4 separate regions of the Homo sapiens genome follow, and regions 2, 3 and 4 are each linked to region 1. Evidence: promoter capture Hi-C in 16 types of primary human blood cells and fetal thymus (Javierre and others, 2016). All regions are on one chromosome and are shown on one strand. Each heading gives the region's core, a stretch centred on a gene start or on the middle of the fragment in contact. The rest is flanking DNA. Distances are from core to core; before and after follow the strand shown.

What was found. Contacts are between HindIII fragments. The CHiCAGO score rates a contact against its expected background, and 5 or more counts as called.
Region 2: a fragment that was not itself captured here is called in contact with the fragment with the promoter of STX1A in region 1 in 1 of 17 cell types (erythroblasts); the score reaches 5.9 in erythroblasts.
Region 3: a contact is called between a fragment that was not itself captured here and the fragment with the promoter of STX1A in region 1, in 4 of 17 cell types (M2 macrophages, M0 macrophages, erythroblasts and 1 more). The highest score is 8.2, in M2 macrophages.
Region 4: a contact is called between a fragment that was not itself captured here and the fragment with the promoter of STX1A in region 1, in 1 of 17 cell types (total CD4 T cells). The highest score is 6.0, in total CD4 T cells.

The regions. Positions count from the first base shown.
Region 1 is chr7:73,716,422-73,721,652 of GRCh38, forward strand. It overlaps STX1A (syntaxin 1A), which reads right to left and starts at 3,248. Exons shown (of 10, transcript NM_004603.4): 1 at 3,181-3,248. The coding sequence starts at 3,210. RefSeq lists silencers at 2,644-2,723, 2,834-2,893, 2,904-3,103, 3,164-3,363. The HindIII fragment of the contact is 14,118 bases long and covers 1-5,231 here.
Region 2 is chr7:73,483,137-73,488,996 of GRCh38, forward strand. All of the region lies in intron 6 of BAZ1B (bromodomain adjacent to zinc finger domain 1B), which reads right to left. Among named protein-coding and RNA genes, the nearest start is that of BAZ1B, 36 kb to the right of the region's middle. The HindIII fragment of the contact is 1,059 bases long and covers 4,065-5,123 here.
Region 3 is chr7:73,465,053-73,470,764 of GRCh38, forward strand. It overlaps BAZ1B (bromodomain adjacent to zinc finger domain 1B), which reads right to left. Exons shown (of 20, transcript NM_032408.4): 8 at 5,293-5,431; 9 at 4,465-4,598; 10 at 1,244-1,349; 11 at 387-485. Among named protein-coding and RNA genes, the nearest start is that of FZD9, 34 kb to the left of the region's middle. The HindIII fragment of the contact is 171 bases long and covers 2,996-3,166 here.
Region 4 is chr7:73,538,382-73,544,109 of GRCh38, forward strand. It overlaps BCL7B (BAF chromatin remodeling complex subunit BCL7B), which reads right to left. Exons shown (of 6, transcript NM_001707.4): 3 at 5,167-5,263; 4 at 1,501-1,671. Among named protein-coding and RNA genes, the nearest start is that of BCL7B, 16 kb to the right of the region's middle. The HindIII fragment of the contact is 204 bases long and covers 4,367-4,570 here.

The DNA of each region.
Region 1 (5,231 bases), core at 1,998-4,497:
AGGCCTGCCTGGGCTGCTCCAGTGAGTTGGGCCCTAGTCTAGACCTCAAGGCACTTCAGGGGGCCCCAGACACCAGCTGTCAGGACCACCTGCTATTCTCTCCTGGTTGAGCATTCCAATCTCTCTGCCTTCACTAAGCTGTCCCCTCCTTTGGATCACCTTCTCTCCTCCTATTCAAATCCAGCTCCTGCTCCTGTGCTATCCCAGGGTCTCTTCTTCCAGGAAGCCTTCCAGGATTGTGCTGCTCCAACTCTCCCTCCTTGCTACGTCTTCAGCCTCCTGCAACAGGTCCCATGTGTCTGTCCCACATGACCTGGCACATAGACAAATACATGTTCTGGGCCCAGGGAGAAAGGTCAGCTCTGCAAAGTCCCCAGGAAGAAAATCAGGGAGTCTCTGAGTTGAGGGGAGGAGGCAGCTACAGCCTGAGTGGGGCTCCTGGGGATGCTCTAACCTAAAAGTCTTTCCCTGGCTGTGTGACCCTGGCCCTGTCTTCGGTCTCTCTTTGTTACCTGTAACCTGCAAGTGGCCTTTCTGATCTCTGAGGGACTGCGACAGCATTGAGGCCCCCTGGCTAGTCCCCAGTGACCCCCTTCACTCCCCATCTGCAGAGGGAGAGTTGGGAGCTGGAGAAGGCTGGAGAAGGCTGGAGGGCTGGGCCGGGCCTGCAGAGTGAGGAAACGCGCCAGCTCCTTCCCCAAGTGTGACTTTTATAAATAAGCTCTCTTCGCCTCCTTCCAAATGTGGTGGTGTTGGGTGGGGGAGAAGGAGAAAGAAGAGGGAGGAGGAGGAGGAAGAGGGAGGGAGGGAGGGCTGGGAGCGGTGCACAGCCGCTGTCCCCAGCACCATCTCTGTTCAGCCCAGCCCAGCCCAGCCCGCCCCAGTCCAGCCCAGTCCAGCCCAGTCCAGCTCAGCCAGTGCTGGCCTCTTCCTTTCTGGGGATTCTGGGCTGAAAATTCTGACTCCTGGGGCTTCAGGCCTCCTACAAATGTGGAGCTGGAGTCAGGAGACCTGTAGCCCTGCTTCTCGTCCCGAGAAACTGAATTCTAGGCTTTCCCATCCCCACTTCACAGATGGGAACCCTAGGTCCAGAGGGAAAGCAGCCTGTGGGAACAGTGGCCCCACCAAGACTGACTGTCTCACCCCACCCCGGGTGGGCTCCTGCCTGCCAGCCGTCCACCTGTCTGCTAGAAAGCCCTCCCTGGGCAGGGCCACCCAGCAATGGGTACAGCCTCCCTGGGCTCTGAATGCCTTGTGTGGGGAGGGTGGGGGTGTCTGGAGCGGAAGCCTCAGACCATTCAAAGCAAAGCCTGGCTTCACCATCTAATCAGGGGGCGAGGAGGTAGTAACAGAGACAGACATCAGAGCAAAAAGATCTGGGTTCAAACGCTTCACAACCCCAGCTCCACTGGCTGTCCCCCAGTGTCAGCCAGGCCTGAGTCTGACTATCTTCAGGGATGAGGCAAAGCCCTTTTCTACCACCCCTCCCTCTAGCAGGCAAGCCGTGTTTCTTTTGTGCCTCAGTTTCCCCTTCAGCTAGGGGGATGAAGGCTGACATGCCAGAGGCTATTATCCTATGTAGGGGCCCATGGTTCCCCTGACCACTTGGTTCCCACACACACCCTCAGGTAACCTACCAGGCGCCTAAACATCAGCACATTACACCACACAGCCATCCGTCACCAGGAAAACACTCATTCTGACTCAACGGAGCTCAGGAAACTTGAGGGCAACCACAGGGGCCGCGGGGGAAGTGTTTAGAGCCCATATGCGACTTGAGGGACCATCTTCTTCCTTTGAAACCTCATGGGGTTTACACCAGGGGCTGGGCGCTCGGCCAGGAATAACAGGTCTGGAGGCAAAGTGGAGGCCGTGGTGCCAGAGCAAGTGGGGGACATGAAGGCAGGGGAGCCCAGGTCCCGGCTCCAGGATGCCCAGGAGGCAACCATGACATAATGGGGCAGACAGGCTCCAACTCAGGGAGCCTCTGGGTGGAGAAGACAAGCCGTGGGGTCAAATGCCCAAAGGACACTTGACATTTTCCATAGGAGGGGACCTTAGGGTTCTAGTTCCTAGCCCAGGGAGCGGGGTGGGGGGTGCTCCCAGGGATCAGCAGGCAGGGCTGCCAGCCAGGTGGCCAGCCAGGGGACCAGATGACCAGATGAGACTCAATCTAGTCTTGAGCCTTGATCCACCCCCCCTCCCCGACACACCCAGAGAGGCTTCATTTCCGTCGCTGTCCTCCACTCCCGGTCACCATCCTCCTGGGCTCCTCATCCCTAAGGGCAGAGGCCAGGGGAAGGGGACCCACGCAGGCTGCAGGGGTCTCTGGGCTGGGAGAAGGTGGGCTCTGACTCAGAACGTTTGTGCATCCTCCTACTCCCCCCAAACCCCGCCCCAGGAGCCACACCCCAGGGGTTTCCCAGATACAGGTAGAAAAATAGATCCAAGTCGCAAGGAACCCTGAAGGGTCTGGAAACGCCAGCCAGTGCTGCCCGAAAGCCCGAAGGTGGATAGGTGGACCGGGGGCGGGTGTGACGCCCCCCCCCCCATACCTGGGGCGGGCAGTGGATCCCTACTGCGACCAAGCAGAGGGGGAGCCACAGGTGATGGGAGCCACAGGTGACCAGGGTGGCCCGAGGAGGCCGCCACCACCCGACGATCAGGTTTCCGCAGCGCGCCCCGCAGCGGGGCCCCGCGCAGGGGACCGGCACCGGCCCACCGCGGTCCCCTCGTCTGTCTACACCAAGGAGGTTCCCACCGCGGTCCCCTCGTCTGTCTACACCGAGGGGGCACGGGAGGTCAGAGATGAGGGGCAGTGAGGGGGCCAGAGAAAGGGCCTGCTCTGCGGGAGGGGGAAGAGGTCCCGCCACCAAAACCCCATCATACCCTCCGAACCCCCCAAATCAAGAGGGCCCCGAAAAGTTTATCCAGGACCCCGGACTCCAGCCGACCGTCCACGTGTCAGCGCGGCCGAGCTCACGCGAGCCTGACCCCGAGTGGGTCCGAGGGGCGGAACCCGGAGGGGGGTCGAGGTCCCTGGCTCGCCCCGCTCCCTTCAGCCCTGGCTGGGGGCGCAGGAGCGGCCACCATCCTGGCCGCGGGAGCCGGGCGGGAAGTGTCCGGCGCGTTGGCGCTGGCGGCGGGCGGCGGGCGGCCGCGCGCTGGGGCCGGACTCACCGTGCGGAGCTCCTGGGTTCGGTCCTTCATGCTCCCGGGAGTGGCAGCGGCGCCGGCTGCAGCCGTGTGAGCCCCGCATGCGCGACGGCCGCCCCGCGGCTGCGCAGCGCCAGCCCGGCCCCGCCCCGGCCCCCGGGACCCCGGCCCCGCCCCACCCCGCCCGGGCCCCGCCCAGACCCCGCCCAGACCCCGCCCCACCCCGCACGAGCAGCCCCGTGGGGATCGAAGCCCTGGGGTCTCGTCCTGGACGTTCCGCACGCGTGATCGCTCCCGGGGATGGGTCCCCAGAGACCCTGCTGCCTCCTCTGCCCCAGCCCTGTCTCGTTTTTTATTTATTATTTTTGGAGACAGGGTCTCGCTCTGTCGCCCAGGCTGGAGTGCTGTGGTGCAATCATAGCTCACTGCAGCCTTGAGCTCCTGAGCTCAGGCAATCCTCCCGCCTCAGTCTCCTGGGTGGCTGGGACTAGAGTTGCTCGCCACTACTCCTGAATAATTTTCAAATATTTTGTAGAGACAGGGTCTTGCTATGTTACTCAGGCTGGTCTTGAACTCCTGTCCTCAAGCGATCCTCCCTCCTCCCAAAGCTCTGCGATTACAGGCGTGAGCCACCGTGCCTGGCTTCCAGCCTCTTCCCGACTTAGCAGCTCAGCATCCCTGTCCCAGAATCCGGTCCTCATCCTCAGATCCCTTCACTTCCCCAGAATTTGCTGAAGGTTGTAACTCCCTCCTTCATTTCATTACCTTGGGACCTCCTGCTCTCCCTTCTGTTCCCCAGCCAAAAACCTCCTGGAGAGTTCCAGTCTGGGAGCCTCCACCCTTCCCCCTTGCTCCCATCATCCAGTAGGGACTCAGGCACTGGCCTCTTCTTTCCCTAGGATTTCTCAGTTCACAGCTCTGATGCTGCGTGACCCACCCCTTTTTCCTGCAGGATGAAGGAACTCCTCTATCTTTTTATGTTTGTTTGTTTGTTTGATTATTTATTTATGAGATGGAGTTTCACTCTTGTCGCCCAGGCTGGAGTGCAGTGGCGCTATCTCAGCTCTGCCTCCTGGGTTCAAGCGAGTCTCCTGCCTCATCCTCCCAAGTAGCTGGGATTACAGGTGCCCACCACCACGCCCGGCTAATTTTTTGTATTTTTTAGTAGAGACAGGGTTTCACCATGTTGAGCAGGCTGGTCTCAAACTCTTGACCTCTTGATTCTCCCGCCTCGGCCTCCCAAAGTGCTGGGCTTATAGGCGTGAGCCACCGTGCCCGGCCTATTTTTTTTTTTTTTTTTTGAGACGGAGTCTCACTCTGTTGCCCAGTCTGGAGTGCAGTAGCACGATCTTGGCTCACTGCAACCTCCACCTCCCGAGTTCAAGCAATTCTCCTGCCTCAGCCTCCCAAGTAGCTTGAGATTACAGGCACCCACAACCACGCCTGGCTAATTTTTTTGTATTTTTAGTAGAGAAGGGGTTTCACCATGTTGTCCAGGCTGGTTTCGAACTCCTGACCTCAAGTGATCTGCCTGCCTCAGCCTCCCAAAGTGCTGGGATTACAGGTGTGAGCCACTGCACCCAGCCAGGAACTACTCTATCTTTGGGAAAGAGATTTGAGTTATGGCCCCCCTCTCCTCCTTTCCCTGCATCCCCAATCCTGAACTCTGGCTCTAGGCCTGAGGTTCTATTTTCTCTTTTTTCGTTTTTGTAAAGACGGGGTCTCCTCATGTTGCCCAGGCTGGTCTCAAAGTCCTAGCCTCAAGCGATCCTCCTGGCTTGGGCTTCCAAAGCACTGGGATTACACTTGGCCAATGTAGGTTCTATTTTCTATCTAGAAGCCTGGGGCCTGGCTTCCTCTAGGACTCATGGGAAAACCTGTGGAGGAGTGGGAGTGGGGAGGCCAGTCAACAGCAGATGTTCTTTTGAAGGTCCCTGCCAGCATCTTGTTGCAACAGTGGTCTCGCACACACCCCCATAAGCCCGCTGTGCCCTCCACCACCCCCAGCTGTCACTTCTGTGGCCCACACCCTCTTGACCTGAAGCCAAGCACATCCCTTCCCTTCCCCAGGACTG
Region 2 (5,860 bases), core at 3,344-5,843, 230 kb before region 1:
CTGTCTCGGCAACATGGAAGGTTGAAAGAAAAAGAGAGCGTCCACAATTTTACATTTGTTCCTGTCACTTGAAACTCACCACAACCACAAATATCTGTCTGCAACTCCTGTTTCTTGATTAAAAAAAGGATAAAAATTAAAGAAATTACTTGTAGCAGCTCATTCAGATGCTGCACACAACTTAATAATAAGCAATATAATCTAGGCAGCAAAACCCTGAATTAGCAAACCTTGGCAATCCATATTGATTCTTATCTCACTGTTCTCATTCACCCAGGGCAACATGTTAGAACTCTGAGGACAACACTCAAATAGTGGGCTTTTCTCAATTTCCACATGCCTTTATTAGCAAGTTTGCAAAATTTGTTACTATAAAATATATTTAAAGTGTTCTCAAAATAATATAACTTACTTTTCATTTTTTTTCTTCTAGCAACCATTCCTTCAACAATATAATTTACCTTTTAAAGTACTTCTGTTCTAACCCCTAACTCACAAACTTTTTTTTTTCCTCCACCCAAAACAGGGTCTCACTCTGTCTGTCACACAGGCTGGAGTGCAGTGGCATGATCACAGCTCACTGCAACCTTGACCTCCTGGGCTCAAGGGATCACCCTGCCTCCATCTCCAAAGTAGCTTGGACTAGAGGCACACGCCACCACACCCAGTTAATTTTTTGTGTATGTAGAAACAGGGTCTCGCCATGTTACCCAGGCTGGTCTCAAACTCATGGGCTCAAGCAATCCTCCCACCTCAGCCCCTCAAACTGCTGAAATTACAAGCAAGAGCCACTACGCCCAGCCATACACAACAAACAAACTTTAAGAGCGAGACTTTAAAGAAAAATCAGGCCGGGTGTGGTGGCTCATGCCTGTAATCCCAGCACTTTGGGAGGCCGAGGCTGGTGGATCACAAGGTCCAGGGATTGAGACCATCCTGGCCAACATGGTGAAACCCCATGTCTACCAAAAATAGAAAAATTAGCCAGGCATGGTGGTGGGTGCCTGTAGTCCCAGCTACTCGGGAGGCTGAGGCAGGAGAATCGCTGGAGCCCAGGAGGCAGAGGTTACAGTGAGCAAAGACTGCACCACTGCACTCCAGCCTGGCGACAGAGCGAGACTCTGTCAAAGGAAGGAAGGGAGGGACGGAGGGAGGAAGATAGATAGATAGATAGATAGACAGACAGACAGACAGACAGACAGATATAGATAGATAGATCAGCCAGGCATGATAGCTCACACCTGTAATCCCAACACTTCAGGGGTCGAGGCGGGGAAGGATTGCTTGAGCCCAGGAGTTTGAGACCAGTCTAGGTAACATGGCGAGACCCTGTCTCTTCAACAAATTAAAAATAAAAATTAGCTGGGCTTCATGGTGCACACCTGTGGTCTCGGCTACTCAGGAGGCTAAGGTAGGCGGATTGCTTAAGCCCAGAGGTCAAGACTGCAGTGAGCTATGATCACACCGCTGCACCTCCAGCCTGGGCAGAGCAAGAGCCTGTCTCAAAAAATAAAAAAATAAATAAAATATGTAATACTATGAGTAATGGACAAAATTATGTCACTGCCTTCTTAAATGATGCACTAAGAATACATCAATTCTTAATGTCCAAATATTCATAACCTGAATCTAATCATGAAGAAATAAACCAAAATCAAAGAGCATTCTACAAAATAACCGGGTTCTATTATTTCAAAACGTCAAGGTTTTGAAAGACAAAGAAAAGCTGAGGGACTGTCCCAGATTAGAAGAGACCAAAGAGACAAGTAAATGTGAACATGTGACACATGGTAGCACAATGGATCCTATTAAAGCAAAACAAAATTGTTTTTTTGGTTAAAAGATTACTGAAGAACTGGGAAAATGTGAGTAAAAACTATAGATTAGATAATAGAGTTATTTCAATGTTAACTTCCTGATTTTGACAACTGTACTGTAGTTACGTTGGAAAATATCCTTGATTTTTTTGTTTTGTTTTGTAGAGATGGAATCTCTCCATGTTGCCCAAGAAGGTCCTGAACTCCTGGACTCAAGTGATCCTCCCACCTCAGCCTCCCAAAGTGTAGAATTACACAGGTGTGAGCTAGCAAATATCAATGTTTTTAAGAAATTCATATTCCAGTATTCTGTAAAAGGGCATCCTGTCTGGAAAATTACTTGGCTCAGGAAAAAATAATTCGTGTGTATATAGACAGCAGATTAGGCCAGATGCAGTGGCTCACGCCTGTAATCCCAACACTTTGGGAGGCTGAGGCAGGAGGATCACTTGAGACCAGGAGCTCAAGACCAGCATGGGCAAGAGTGAGACTCCATCTTTACAAAAAATAAAAAACACAAAAATCAGTTGGGCATGGTGGTGAGCACCGGTAATCCTAGCTAGTCAGAAGCATGAGGTGGGAGGACTGCTTGAGCCAGAAGTTCCAGGTTACAGTGAGCTATGATCATTCCACTGCTCTCTAACCTGGGAGACAGCATAAGGCCTACCTCAGAAAAAAAAAAAAAAAAAGAGAGAGAGAATGATAAACAAATATGATAAATGTTAACATCTGAGGAAATCTAATTAAAGAGTACACAGAAATTTGGTAGTGTTTTGTCAATTCTCCTGTATAAAATTATTTAATAAAATATTAAAATGTGTTAAGAACAAGGCTAAATTCATGCAGGATTCCAAATGCCTTAAAGTATTATTTTCTTCTTACATCTCTAATCCAAAGGCTTCCCTACTAGGATTTATCAGTCTAAAATAAGAGCTCAAACATGATGGAGACTAACAAAATAGGGCTGCAATGTATTACAAGAGGAAAATGAGCTAGAGATTTCATCTTAGATGACAGTTATCACCCAATTGCCTTGTAAATCATTCCTCCAAGTCATTGGGCCTACAAAAAATTACGCTGCCCCTAAAGCCCAAATGTCAGTGGCATTTTTCTCCAACAAATGGAACTTCAAGAAATGAATAGCCAGTTACCTATTATATGCAACATACTATGCTAAACGTTACAAGATATAAAATAAGCAAGGTAGTTCTTATTCTCAAGTAATTTATATTCTACAAAGATTTTAGAAAACCACAAACACACCCTCATCATCATATTAGGTACTCAGGTAACAATCCAAAATTCCTGTATCTTTACATAATTTTCCTCTCTCCCACGTAAGCCCTCACTATGGGTCCTTTGGTAAAACTATTTTATTTATTTATTTATTTGAGACAGAGTCTCACTTTGTTGCCCAGGCTGGAGTGCAGTGGCGTGATCTCGGCTCACTACAAGCTCAGCCTCCCAGGTTCATGCCATTCTCCTGCCTCAGCCTCCCGAGTAGCTGGGACTACAGGTGCCCGCCACCACGCCCGGCTAATTTTTTGTATTTTTAGTAGAGACGGGGTTTCACCATGTCAGCCAGGATGGTCTCGATCTCCTGACCTCGTGATCCGCCCAACTCGGCCTCCCAAAGTGCTAGGATTACAGGCGTGAGCCACTGCGCCTGGCCTGCTAAAACTATTGCTCAGAACTCACTCTCTTTACACCTGGTCTCACTCTACAGTAAATGTACTCAGAGCCTGACAGAACATTACATTCTACAAAAACCAAAGAGTATACAGAGAGAGAAAACATCCCATGCCTTTGGATGGATGGGTCCTATGTGATCAACTTTAATCCTCAACAGATTATTTTAAATTTCTTCTAGAAAAAGAAAGAAAACAAAGCAATGTTTTAGGTTCTACTTATCATCTGTGTTACTATGTTTTGCCCTGGCTGAGAAGCCAAAGTCCTAATTTTATAAATAGGAAAAACACAGCTTATATACAGAAAACAATCAGTGACATGTCAGATAGTATTAGGAAATAAGAAATTATTGTTTAAGGTAGGGAAAACAAATAATAAACCTGAGTATATGCCTTTAACTTTGTAGACCAGTATTTTACATGAGTCTTAAGTTTTCTGAGTAAAATCACTGCCATCTTCCAGCACTTTAAGCAAGCTTCCATTTCCTAGTCTTAACCTAAATTATAGCCAAATTTCATAACATTAGTAAGTTAAGCCCCCACTAGAAATTCTGGGAGAAGCTTATTTCTTCAGAAATTGCCTTTCAGGTTTTAAGTTCCTGGAGTTCTAGTCTCTCTCTCCTACAAAAATTGTGGATCAGCTGGGCGTGGTGGTACGTGCCTGTAGTCCCCAGCTACTAGTGAGACACAGGGAGGAGGATCACTTGAGCCCAGAAATTTCAGGCTGCAGTGAACTGTGATTGTCCCACTGCACTCCAGCCTGGGTAACAGAGCAAGACCCTGTCTCTAAAGTAAGAAATAAGTGTGGATCAGCTTTTATGTCTTAGGAAACTCAAAAAATATTTTACCCATAAAAAGAGTCTTTCACATTATTCACATACTTGAATCACTAAACTAAAATACATAAAACAGAGCTGTAAGATTAGAAAAGAGGAAAATATTAAGGACTCAAGTAATCCAAGAATTAGTCTAAAACCCATTTAGAGATGGTTTCATGGAGTTCTCATATAGCGAAGATAGGAATCTCATGTGAAGACCACAGAAAGCTGAATCATGGTTCCAAACTCTGTGGCAACAAAATGACAGTGAACTCAAAATTTCTCCTCAACAAACAAAAACAAACATCTGAGAAAAAAATTATAGTTCCATGGAAAATTTAGTCCTGATCTAGAAAAAGCCAATTACTTTCTAAATTTTTCCTTTTAAGCAAATAATAATAATTTAAAGAGCATAACAGAAGACACCACTTATCTTGCTGGTCTAGAATAAGAAAATCTGCTAAGTGCTAAAACCATGACTGGAGGTCTTTACTAATGTTTTGGAGAAATAAAATTACTTTTCAATATGCTTTTGTCACCATAATCAACTTAAGATAATTGAACAAATTTAGTTGTTATGACTTCAGATGTCTTTATATTTTCATAATTAAATGAAATGGGAAAAAAAGAAATCCTGGAAATGTGACCTAGTTTTAATGGATCAAGAGCCCTTTTCTGGTTCTACGCTGGCCCAGAGACCAAGATGAAAATTATCAGCCAGTATGCTGCGTTACATTTACCAATGAAAGAAGCATTAAGTACTTTCAAAACCTACATTAAAAAACCACTTTAACAGGTAAAGCTTGAAATGGAAAAGAAAATCAGAAATCCTAGGCCAGTGTCTTAAGTCTTGTCATCACTTTCTGTTGGTTCTGATTAGACTAGGCCTCAGATACCCCATCTGTAAAATGAAATATATATATGTACCATATAACTTCATAAAAATATTTGGAAAATCAAAAGTGAGGATTTTAAAAATTACTCCTTCTCGGCCAGGCATGGTGGCTCACATCTGTAATCCCAGCACTTTGGGAGGCCGAGGCAGGCGGATCACTTGAGGTCAGGAGCTCAAGACTAGCCTGGCCAACACGGCAAAACCCCATCTCTACTAAAAATAGAAAAATTAGCCAGGTGTGGTGGCACATGCCTGTAATCCCAGCTACTCAGGAGGCTGAGAAGAAGGAGAAGGAGGTTGCAGTGAGCCGAGATCGCACTACTGCACTCCAGCCTGGGTGACAGAGCGAGACTCCAACTCAAAAAAAAAAAAAAAACAAAAAAAACTTACTCTTCAAGAGGAAAATACTAGGTTTTCCACTAATCTATCACACACACTGCTCCTCATTCCAGGTTCTTTTCAAGGCTGCCACTGTATGTGATCATCTTGTCCGACATGCAAAATCAGTTTTCATTCTTGGTAACTGGTTAACAAAATACTTTTTATATTTATACCATACCTCATTCCAAAAAGGGTCTGAGGCACAAAAGCACATGTATATAGACTTTTAAAATTATGCTAGCATAATAAAAAATAAATTGA
Region 3 (5,712 bases), core at 1,831-4,330, 250 kb before region 1:
TATTTATCCGTTCCATCAGTTGATAGTCATTGCCGTTGTTTCCACCTTTTGGCTCTTCTGAATATTGATAGAATACTTCTGGACACCCACCCATCTGGGCCTCCATCTGCAAAGCTGTCTGACAACCATGAGGCTCACAGCTTGGTGCTGGCAACTGTTCTTTAGTGCATAATAATCCTGCTACTCTATATATAGATGGCCAAAGGTATATTTTTCCAATAAGCATAATATGCCAAGAAAATACCAGGCAATATGAACACAAAACGGTTACACATTTAAAATATTTTACTTTAGTAACTTAAATGGATAAGAAAAAAAACCCTCAGATATTTATATCCAATGCTAAAGAGAAGTAAGATGTGAGGAGTAAGATGAAAACCTCTTACCTCTTCTCTAGTCTCTCTTTAAGTTGACTTTCTCTTATTCCCTGAGGGTGAAGACAGTTTAGCAACTCATCCAGCTCCTTTTGACTATCACATAAAAACCTGTAGGGGCAAAAGAGACCTGATAACTCTGAAAAAAAAAAAAAAATTCAAAATCAAACACTAAGCAAGGGATCTAGAGTTGGTGGTGGGACTTGGGAGAACAGAATTCCAAATGTGTTCACAATCTACTATCTAGAAGTAGAATAAGTAATTTACTATTTTCATGATGCCTAATGTTAATTCTGTACTAGGACACCAGAGCCAATATGGTTCCTATTAAAATATTATATGAAATTTTATAAAGTTAATTGGCATACTTGTCCCTTTCCCTCCAGAGAGTAAACCTATACCCAAAATTCAAAAATGAAAGGTCATTAAATCACAGGTGATCACAGTTAAAGCCGTAGAATGGATCCTCTAAAACCTAGCTCGCTGCCTAAAAGCAGAAATGCGCATAAAGGAAACGAATAGCTATGCATACAATTTGTTAATTAATAAAATTTAAGGAAAATCTTAAATACTTCTATTCCCAACCAAATTTAAGCTACATTTCTACTGCTATATAAGATCTATCACATAATATACAAAGTTATATTACAGGGGGGAAAAAATCAAAATTCCAACCCTTAAAAAAACAAGTATCTTCTTAACAAAAAATCAGGTCTGCTAATGCAAGAAGTTTTGATATCCAAAATATCAGTCACACAAAGTATCCTGCGCAAATAATTATTAACTCACTGGCATCACTATACTAAATACTTTCTTCCTTAACAATTAAAAGGAAAAAGAAAGAGCAACCAGATGAATGCTCACATTACCATAGGTTCTGTCCTTGTTTGGGTGTGGTTGTCTCTACAGCAACTTCTGTTGCTGTTCCATGTTGTGTGTTCATGCTTGCATTTTTACCTAAGTTTGCTTTCTTACCTAAGAAAAATTGAGACATTAGGTTGACTTTAGTAAATACCCAATTGCTAGTTTCAAATCTAAGCAGTACACAGTGCCAAACTCAACAATTTGTAACAACACAGATACTTCCTGTGAAATATATCAAATATATCTTCATGTATAAAAGATGCTAATTTCTCTTAAATATCTTAAACACAGCATGTTATCTCAGATATTTGCTCTCTGAAGTGGAATCGTTACACAGTTCCAAAGTTTAGGGGTACTGCAACTTAGAATGAAGAATGACTAAATATCTTTATATCAAAGCAAAATAAAGAATTTACTCCTTTTACATGATGTTAAGAGCAAAGGCATCTGTAGTGAAGCAGAGGTAATGAGAACATATAAATACTATAGACTTATCCTTGGAGGCTTCAAGTGTCAAATAATACAACTAACTTTTTTGTAAATCAGTTCCTATATACTGATACGTGACTTTAACATAGATATATCTTGAGCCAATTTATCAAAGCCTATCTTAGATCATCACAATATTTGGTTTTTTGTTTTGTTTCGTTTTGTTTTTTGAGATAGAGTCTCGCTCTGTCGCCCAGGCTGGAGTGCAGTGGTACAATCTCAGCTCACTGAAACCTCTGCCTCCCAGGTTCATGCAATTCTCCCTGCCTCAGACTCCCGAGTGGCTGGGATTACAGGCACACACCAACACACCTGGCTAATTTTTCTATTTTTAGTAGAGATGGGGTTTCACCATGTTGGCCAGGCTGGTCTCCAACTCCTGACCTCAGGTGATCCGCCCGCCTTGGCCTCCCAAGTGCTGGGATTACAGGTGTGAGCTACCACGCCCGGCCAGTCACCACAATATTTGAAGCCTTACCTCATACTATGATTGTTTATCTTCTCTTTCCCATTCTCCCCACTTTAACCTGAAACATCTCTGCAATACTAACACATAACTTTGTTTAGTCTTTTCAATTGGGTAATTTATTTATTTTTTTTAATTTTTTGAGACAGAATGTTGCTCTGTCACCCAGGCTGCAGTGCAGTGGCGCAATCTTGGCTCACTGCAACCCCTGCCTCCTGGGCTTAAACAATTCTCTTGCCTCAGCCTGCCAAGTAGCTGGGATTACAGGTGCCCGCCACCACACCCGGCTAATTTTTGTGTTTTTTGTAGAGACGGGGTTTCGCCATGTTGGCCAGGCTGGTCTTTTAACTCTTGAGCTCAAGTGATCCGCCTGCCTCAGCCTCCCAAAGTGCTGGGATTATAGGCATCAGCCACTGCATCCAGCCTCAGTTGGGTAATTTTAAATAAAAACTGCCATTCTAGAACTGGAAAACACGAAACAACATCCACCAGGATGCTCTAGAAGTGAAGGGTCTGGCTCCCCAATCTTGTCTCGGGGACACATTATAAAGTAACACTCCTTCATCCCACTGGAATCTCTTCCAAATCTAAACATCCAGGCTCCACAGTTACTGCTCTCAAACCTAACTGCCCTCACCTGAGTATTTATGAAGTCTAACGAAACCAGATTCTTCTATAAAGTGACATAATCTATGCTCGATATAATTCAACATGCAAACACCTTAAATCTGAAGTTTTATTTGAAGGAATGTTTATTTTTGTAAATCAGTATTATTCTTATTTAACAATTTTGTGAGTTTCAAGCTTGAGTTAGGAATTTCTCTAAAATGAATTACTTTTTAAAAAATAAAGATTTATCGAAGAAGCACAATAACCTAGTACTCAGGAAGCAACTTCTTTTATTTCTTTATCTCCCACATGACACCAACACATAAGCAATTTTCATTAGGTTACAGACAGCAGAGCTGAAAGAAGCTTATGGATCATTTAACCTAGTGGTTCTCGAAAGGGAGCACTGCTGCCTGCCACATGTATCTGGCAGGATTTAGAGACATACTTGGTTTTCACTGCTACCACCTAGTGGGTAGAGGGGAGCTCCCGAATAACCTATAATGCACAGGACAGCTCCCAGTACAAAAAACTATCTTCCTCATCAGTGTCATGGTGGGAGGAAAAAAAAAAAGATTCATCTAGCCCAAAATGTCAGTAACACTGAGGTTGAGAAAACCTGACCTAACCTAACCATCTTATTTTTTTAATTAAAATTTGTTTTATTTCTTTCTTGAAATATACTCAATACATACACTTTAAGAAAGAATATGGATATATATTCAGAAAACTATTCAGTGTGTGTTTCTTTTACAAACTGAACACATATACCCGGCACCCAGATCAAGAGAAAGAATATTACCAGTGTCCCTACATGATCCCCTCTCAGTCACTCATTTTTCGTTAGGTATTTGCCATGTTTCTCCTCACAAGAATTTTAAGAACCTTATCTGTCTTGTTTGCTGCTATACCCCTAGCGTATGACAAACTGCTTCACAAATAGAGATTCAGCATAAACACTGAATAAATTAATTTTAAAAGTAGAAGAAGAGGGTCAGGTGCAGTGGCTCACACTTGTAATCCCCAGCACTTTGGGAGGCCGAGGTGGGCAGATCACCTGAGGTCAGGAGTTTGAGACCAGCTTGGCCAACATGGCGAAACCCCGTCCCTACAAAAAATACAAAAATTAGCCAGATGTGGTGGCACACACCTGTAGTCCCAGCTACTCGGGAGACTGAAGTAGGAGAAGTGTTTGAACCCAGGAGGTGGAGGTTGCAGTGAGCCGAGATCACGCCATTGCTCTCCAGCCTGGGCAACAAGAGTGAAATTCCGTCTCAAAAAAAAAAAAAAAAAGAAGAAGAAGAAGAGGACATCTAACACTGCCCTTCTTAGACCCCATACCTCAATTTCAGCCCTTGAGGCACCTACAAAGGCTTCCAAGGGACAAAGTTTGAAAACTGCTCCTATAAAAGCTAATACCCAAATATCCTCATATTCAAGCTCTTCATCTTCTCACACTATGCTTAGAACAAAGGTGGTAATCAAACGTGGGTTTCTCTCCTTCTTTCTACACATTTCACATCTACCTACTTCACTCAAATAGATCTAAGACCACAATAAAGAAATTCTGCAAATGGAAAACGTGACAGAGGAAAAGCAGTCCTTAATGTTGAGCCCACTTGAGCAGGGTGAAATAACTCTTAGATATACAGATATACTCACTGCGAGGACAGTAATCCTCATCACCAGAGACTGTGTGGTCTTTGCAGTGATGGTTGAATCGGTAGTCAATGCTGTCATGTACCCAGCCTTTTTCAATGAATAATCCTGGAACTTCATCTGAGAAGAGCCAGTATCTACAAATCACAACCAGTATTAATAAGACAGTGAATAGATCAGGATTGCAGGATGATTTTACTGCTGGAGAAGATAATACAGAGTATCACTGAGCATTCAAAACCACAGTTTACAGAATTCTTCCTCTTCAGAACTCTAGACAGATAAAAATTGCAAGGTAAATCAAAGTATACGAGAAATGTTGAAACTGGAGACTAGCTTAATGTTCGTAATTTGTATAATTTCTTTCTTTTTTAAATTGAAATGGGGTCTCGCTATGTTGGCCGGGCTGGTCTTGAACTCCTGGCCTCAAGCAATCCTCTCGACTCAGCCTCCCAAAGTGTAGGATTACAGGTGTGAACCACCACGCCCAGCCCTAATTTGTGTAACTACTAATATTTCTCCTTTAGGTTTCACAAAATGTATGTATTTAAAACCTACTGCCATTTTTAAAGACTTGGATTACATTTCACCTATCACCATCATGTAAGCTTCCTACTTGTGGTATATGCAAGGGCAGGAATATGTCTTACTTAACTTTGCAACTCTAGCATTTGGCAGTTAATATTCAATAATCATCAACAATTCTGTTTCCAAAAAGAATTGGAAAACTGAAGAGAGAAGCTTGTCTATTCTTGTACTTTAGAAAATTTTCCTAACTAATAGCAATGTAAATAGTCCTAAAGAAAACAAAAATTTGGTTTAGGAACTGACCTATTATGGTTTCGATCTGTGCCAATAGGAGTCCTGCGCATGACTAGTTTGGCCTTGGCAATCCCTTCCTGGAAAGCTTTCTCAGCAGCTGCTTTGTGCTTCCGTATTCGTTCTTCTTCAGCTTGGCGTTCCAGTTTCACTGTTAAAAATAAAAAGACTCAAATCAGATATTTTCCTAGTAAATCCCACTCTTACAAATTAAATAAAATATGGAGTAAAAAGTGCCTAGTATACAGTAGTTATCAAATCTTAGTTTGCTTTCTCTAATTCTAATCTGTTACAAGAAATTACATGTAAGGCAGCAACATCTAGTCCTCCTACACTCCTTGAATTTGTGGTGACATCTCATCCCTCAACTCAATGCAAAATCTTTTATCTCCAAAATATCACTTCTTTTTGTTTTTGTTTTGAGGCAGAGTC
Region 4 (5,728 bases), core at 3,219-5,718, 180 kb before region 1:
GTAAGAACACAATAAATATTAACTACAATTGGCATTTCCCATGGAGAAACAAGTTCCATTTTGTAGTTGGCTGTTAACAGGTCACAGCACAGGAGAAGGTAACAAGGGCCTAAGACACATCTATATATCCATATTATAACAAGAAACCTGGGTCGGGCATGGTGGCTCACACCTATAATCCCAGCTACTCTGGAGGCTGAGGTGGGAGGATCACTTGAAGCCCAGGAGTTCAAGACCAGCCTGGGCAACATAGTGAGACTCCATTTCTACAGAAAATTAAAAGAAAGCCAGGCATGGTGGCAAAGGCTTACAGTCCTACTACTACGGAGTCTGAGGCAAGAGGATCACTTGACCCCAGGAGTTCAAGACTGCAGTGAGCTAGGATTCAGCCACTGCATTCTAGCCTGGGCAACAGAGCAAGACCCTATCTCTTTAAAAAAAAAAAAAAAAAAAAAAAGAAAAGAAAAAAATTTAGCATGTAATGCAGACAGCATAAATGCTGAAAATAGAAGGACTTAAAGTGACATTCATTCCAACAGTTACTAGACTGGCTATGTGATCTCAGACAAGCGATTTAACCTTTCTCTGTTTTTTTTTGAGATGAAGTCTAGCTCTGTCGCCAGGCTGGAGTGCCCTGGTGCGATCTTGGCTCACTGCAACCTCTGCCTCCTGGGTTTAAGTGATTCTCCTGCCTCAGCCTCCCGAGTAGCTGGGATTACAGGCTTGCGCCACCATGCCTGGCTAATTTTTGTATTTTTAGTAGAGATGGGGTTTCACCATGTTGGTCAGGCTGGTCTCTAACTCTTGACCTCAGGTGATCCACCCACTTCGGCCTCCCAAAGTGCTGGGATTACAGGTGTGAGCCACCGCGCCAGGTCTTTTTTTTTTGAGATGGAGTCTCACTCTGTTGCCCAGGCAAGAATACACTGGTGTGATCTCAGCTCACTGTAACCTCTGCTTCTTGGGTTCAAGTGATTCTTCTGCCTCAGCCTCCGGAGTAGCTGGGATTACAGGCACATGCCACCACGCCCAACTAAATTTTTTATGTTTTTAGTAGAGACGGTTTTGCCATGTTGGTCAGGCTGGTCTTGAACTCCTGGCCTCAAGTGACCCGCTCACCTCGACCTCCCAAAGTGCTGGGATTACAGGTGTGAGCCACCATGCCCAGCCCAATTTAACCTTTCTAAGCTTTGAATGTCCATTTTCCTCATCTGTAAAAGAAGACAATAGCTGCCACCTCACAGGATTTTTGAGAGAATTATAGCAGGCGTCAAATACTCAAGTTCCTTCCACACAGCCTGGCACGCAACTCTAATGCTTGTTTTCTCCCTTCCCTCTGTGAAAGGGGAAACTATAATCATTCCTAAGCTATCGAGAAAGGGCTTGGTGCTGCCTGGCTCTGAGGTGCTCTCTCGAGCCTGTTACTCTAAAGACGAGACACAACAAGAGCAGAAAGCAAGGCCCTTCTAGGAAACTCATCCTCGGCCAACCACGACTCACCCTCCAGGATCTCCTGGCCCAGCGTTGGGGGCTGGGAGTCATCCGTGCGGAAGTCGGAGGTGTGTGCTGGGCTCAGGGACTCACTCTGCTGGGGGCTGGGGCTTGAGTTGGTGCTGCTGTCCACCTTAAGCTGATAGACGTCAGACACGGAACTCTGGTTGCTGTTTTCGTCTGAAAACCAAACAGAACAAAGGCAGCAGCTGAGCGTGGTCATTTTCCTCAAGAGGAACTCTGGACAGAGCCAAGGGCCTGGCATCACTTTAGGCAGCCAAGGATACAACTGAGTATAATAATCATTGTGCCCGGCCTACACGACATAGATTCTAAGCACCAGAGGCAGCCAGAATCTTTATGTTTATGCAACATTACACTTTAGGAAGGTCAGGATATGCTTATTAAACTCTTCTTTATTATCCACTGATTGCAGCTTGTGGAAGGGAGGGATGTAGCTGTGTCTCTGGTCAGTACTTCTCAATCCTTCTCACATCATAAGATGTGTAGAAAATGACATTTGTCAGGCATCCTTGGGCATCTGAAGGAGGCTGGTGGTGTCTGAAGGTGGTGAGCTCAGGCTTCGGCTGCCGGACTGACGGATTAGCACCTGGGAGTTCTGCCTGAAGGCTTAAAGTCACCATCAAGGTGCAAAACTTAAGAGTTACCAGGCCGAGGCCAGGCACGGTGGCTCACGCCTGTAATCCCAGCACTTTGGGAGGCCGAGGTGGGCAGATCACAAGGTCAGGACATCGAGACCATCCTGGCTAACACGGTGAAACCCCGTCTCTACTAAAATTACAAAAAATTAGCCGGCTGTGGTGGTGGGCACCTGTAGTTCCAGCTACTCAGGAGGCTGAGGCAGAAGAATGGCATGAACCTAGAAGGCAGAGCTTGCAGTGAGCCGAGATCGCGCCATTGCACTCCAGCCTGAGCAACAGAGCGAGACTCTGTCTCAAAAAAAAAAAAAAAAAAAAAAAAAAGAGTTACCAGGCCGAGTGCAGTGGCTCACGCCTGTAATCCCAGCACTTTGGGAGGCCAAGGTGGGCGGATCACTTGAGGTCAGAAGTTTGAGACCAGCCTGGCCAACATGGTGAAACCCCGTCTCTACTGAAAATACAAAAATTAGCCGGGCATGATAGCACGCGCCTGTAATCCCAGTTACTTGGGAGGCTGAGGCAGGAAAATCGCTTGAACCCGGGAGGTGGAGGTTGCAGTGAGCTGAGATCGTGCCATTGCACTGTAGCCTGGGTGACATGGCGAGACTCCGTCTCAAAAAATAAAAATTAAAATTAAAAAAAAAGAAAAAAAGTAAGAGTCACCAATGCATTCCTCCGCTGCACCTACAGTAGCCAGTCACCAAAGTGTTTCCCCCTCCTGCTCTGGTATCATTTGTGCTCATTCCTTCCTCTCCTACTGCTTCAGTTCAAGCCTCATCATCTCCAGCCTGGCCTCCTGCAACAGCCACATACCTCACTGCCCTGCCTCCAGTCTCACGTACCTTAAACTGAACTGCAAACCACTGCCAGAGAGACCTTTCTAAACCCTTCGACGCTCCACTGCTGCCTAAGGGAGAAATGTCATACCCAGTACTTTTTTTTTTTTTTTTTTTGAGACCGAGTTTCGCTCTTGTTGCCCAGGCTGGAGTGCAATGGTGCTATCTCAGCTCACCACAACCTCTGCCTCCTGGGTTCAACTGATTCTCCTGCCTCAGCCTCTTGAGTAGCTGGGATTACAGGCTTGCGCCACCACGCCTGGGTAATTTTGTATTTTTATTAGAGACGGGGTTTCACCATGTTGGTCAGGCTGGTCTCGAACTCCTGACCTCAGGTAATCCACCTGCCTCAGCCTCCCAAAGTGCTGGGATTACAGGCATGAGCCACCACGCCCAGCCATACCCAGTACTTCTTAGGAGAGGCAGGAGCTGGCCTTATCGCAACATAGGAAGTCCTTTCTGATCTCTGGCCTCAGTGCCTACTGTTCTCCTACAAGCATCCTCAGCTCCAGGCAGACTGGACCCTAACCCAAGAGCTTCGTCATGCATGGGTGCTTCTGCCCAGCTGTTCCTTGGCTAGGCTGCCTTCTCTTGTCCTGGAAAGCCTCAGACCTCCCAACACAGCCCCGACATCACTTCTTCCGCGGAGCCCTACCTCCCTGGCTCGCATAGGTGGAAATGCCCACCCTCTCTTACTCTCCTGTGATAGCCTGTGCACGCCTGCATTTATCATTTCGCACACGTGCTTCCTCCCATGAGCCTCTGTGGACAGGCTCTGTGGCTCACTTGTCCTTGACTCCCCAGTGCAACGCACGGTACCTGCATACAGTGGGAGTTCATTAAGTGTTTACTAAATGAAAAGGAGGAGATGGTGGCCAGACTGAGGAAATGGAGCCTCATATGTCTCCCAGAGCCTTCTGACTACTGAACACACGTTGGTGTTCCCTTTCCAACAGCACATGGTTGACCTTGGTGGGGCCTGGGAAAGAGGTGGGGAAGGAATAACTACACGCTGGGTTAGCTCCAATCTGGTTTTGAAGAGAAAGTCATAAACTCATGCTAGTCTTGACTCCTATAAAGACCTTTAATACCCACACTAAAATGGAAGTAGCATTTTGTCACCAAATGAATAAAACTGTCACTTTTGAGCTTAGACAAAACACTGTTCCTCCCTGAGCATCAGTTTCCTTAAATAGGGATGATAATAACTGCCTGGTTTATATCACAGGCTGATACATGGGTAAAAATGAGAAAGTAAAGTAAAAGTGCTTCGTAGACAGTACCTAGCAGGTAGGTGTAAAAGGCAGTATCATGACTACGGTGATGATCCGGCGGGATTGGTTTAGGAGGCAGAACATGTCCTAACAGTGGGTAAGCAGAAGCTTCGGCTTTGGGTAGCCTACTCTAAGCGACTATGATAAAACATACAGTCTAGGCCAGGTGCAGTGGCTCATGCTTGTACCTTGGGAGGTCAAGGCTGGGGGACTGCTTGAGGCCAGGAGTTCACAACCAGCCTGGACAACATAGCCAGACTCTGTCTCTACAAAAAATAAAAAATAAAAAATGAAGTACAATCTAAAAAAAAGCTTCTGATTCGGACAACCAGGACCTGACATGGAGTCTGTCACTTACAAGTTATGTAACTTTAGACACGTAACTTAACCTCTCTGAGCCTCAGTTTCCTTAACTGGAAAATGAGAATACCATTACCTATCTTGCAGAGTTATCGTGAAGTTTAAATGAAAAGATTTAGGTCAAGTGCCTCGCAAAATACCAGCGAAACAGCAGGCACTGAATTGATACACAGAATTCTTTTTTTTTTTTTTTGAGACGGAGTCTCACTCTGCAGCCCAGGCTGGAGTGCAGTGGCGCAATCTCGGCTCACCGCAACCTCCACCTCCTGGGTTTAAGCGATTCTCCTGTCTCAGACCCCCGAGTAGCTGGGATTACAGGCACGCGCCACCACGCTCAGCTAACTTTTTGTATTTTTAGTAGAGACTGGGTTTCACCATATTGGCCAGGCTCGTCTTGAACTCCTGACCTCAGGTGATCTGCCCGCCTCAGACTCCCAAAGTGCTGAGGTTACAGGTGTGAGTCACTGCACCTGGCCAATTCTTCTTATTAATGCATTCATCCAAGTTTTCATTCTCCTGCAAGGAAGACACAGAGATGCAACTCACCCTGGAATTCAAGAAGGAGAGAGGAATTGGCTGAGGCATCAGAAGGAAAGCCATTAGGTTCTCGGGCTGCTGAACTGTTCGATTTTGACTTTTCTTTCTAGAAAAGGAAAAAAAGAGGAATATGACAGAGCCAAGCAGGAGACTCACAGAGAGGGAGGAGGGTGCTATGTGACAGACCACAGAGGTCTGGATTAGGACTGAACAGGAAAAACGACAGCAGCGTGAGAATCCAAGGACCCAAGGAAGAACAGAATCCTGGACAAGCAACTTCTCCTCAAGCCTCAGAAAAATGAACCCTTCCAGCAGGAATACTGTGAATCATAAGCAACAGGCAGATACATACACTTCGACTAGAACATCCCATAGTATCCCTCTCCTGCCCTGATCAAATTGCGCCAGGCAACCCTTCTCTATACGAATGGGCAAGAAATACAAAACACTCATTTGAGAAAGATTCCTGTTTCAGTAGCAGAGTGGGGAAAAAGTGAGAGAAGAAGGAACCTCATGTAACACAGACAGTGACAGGACAAATGGGCCCAGGCTGGCTCTATTCCTGATCCGT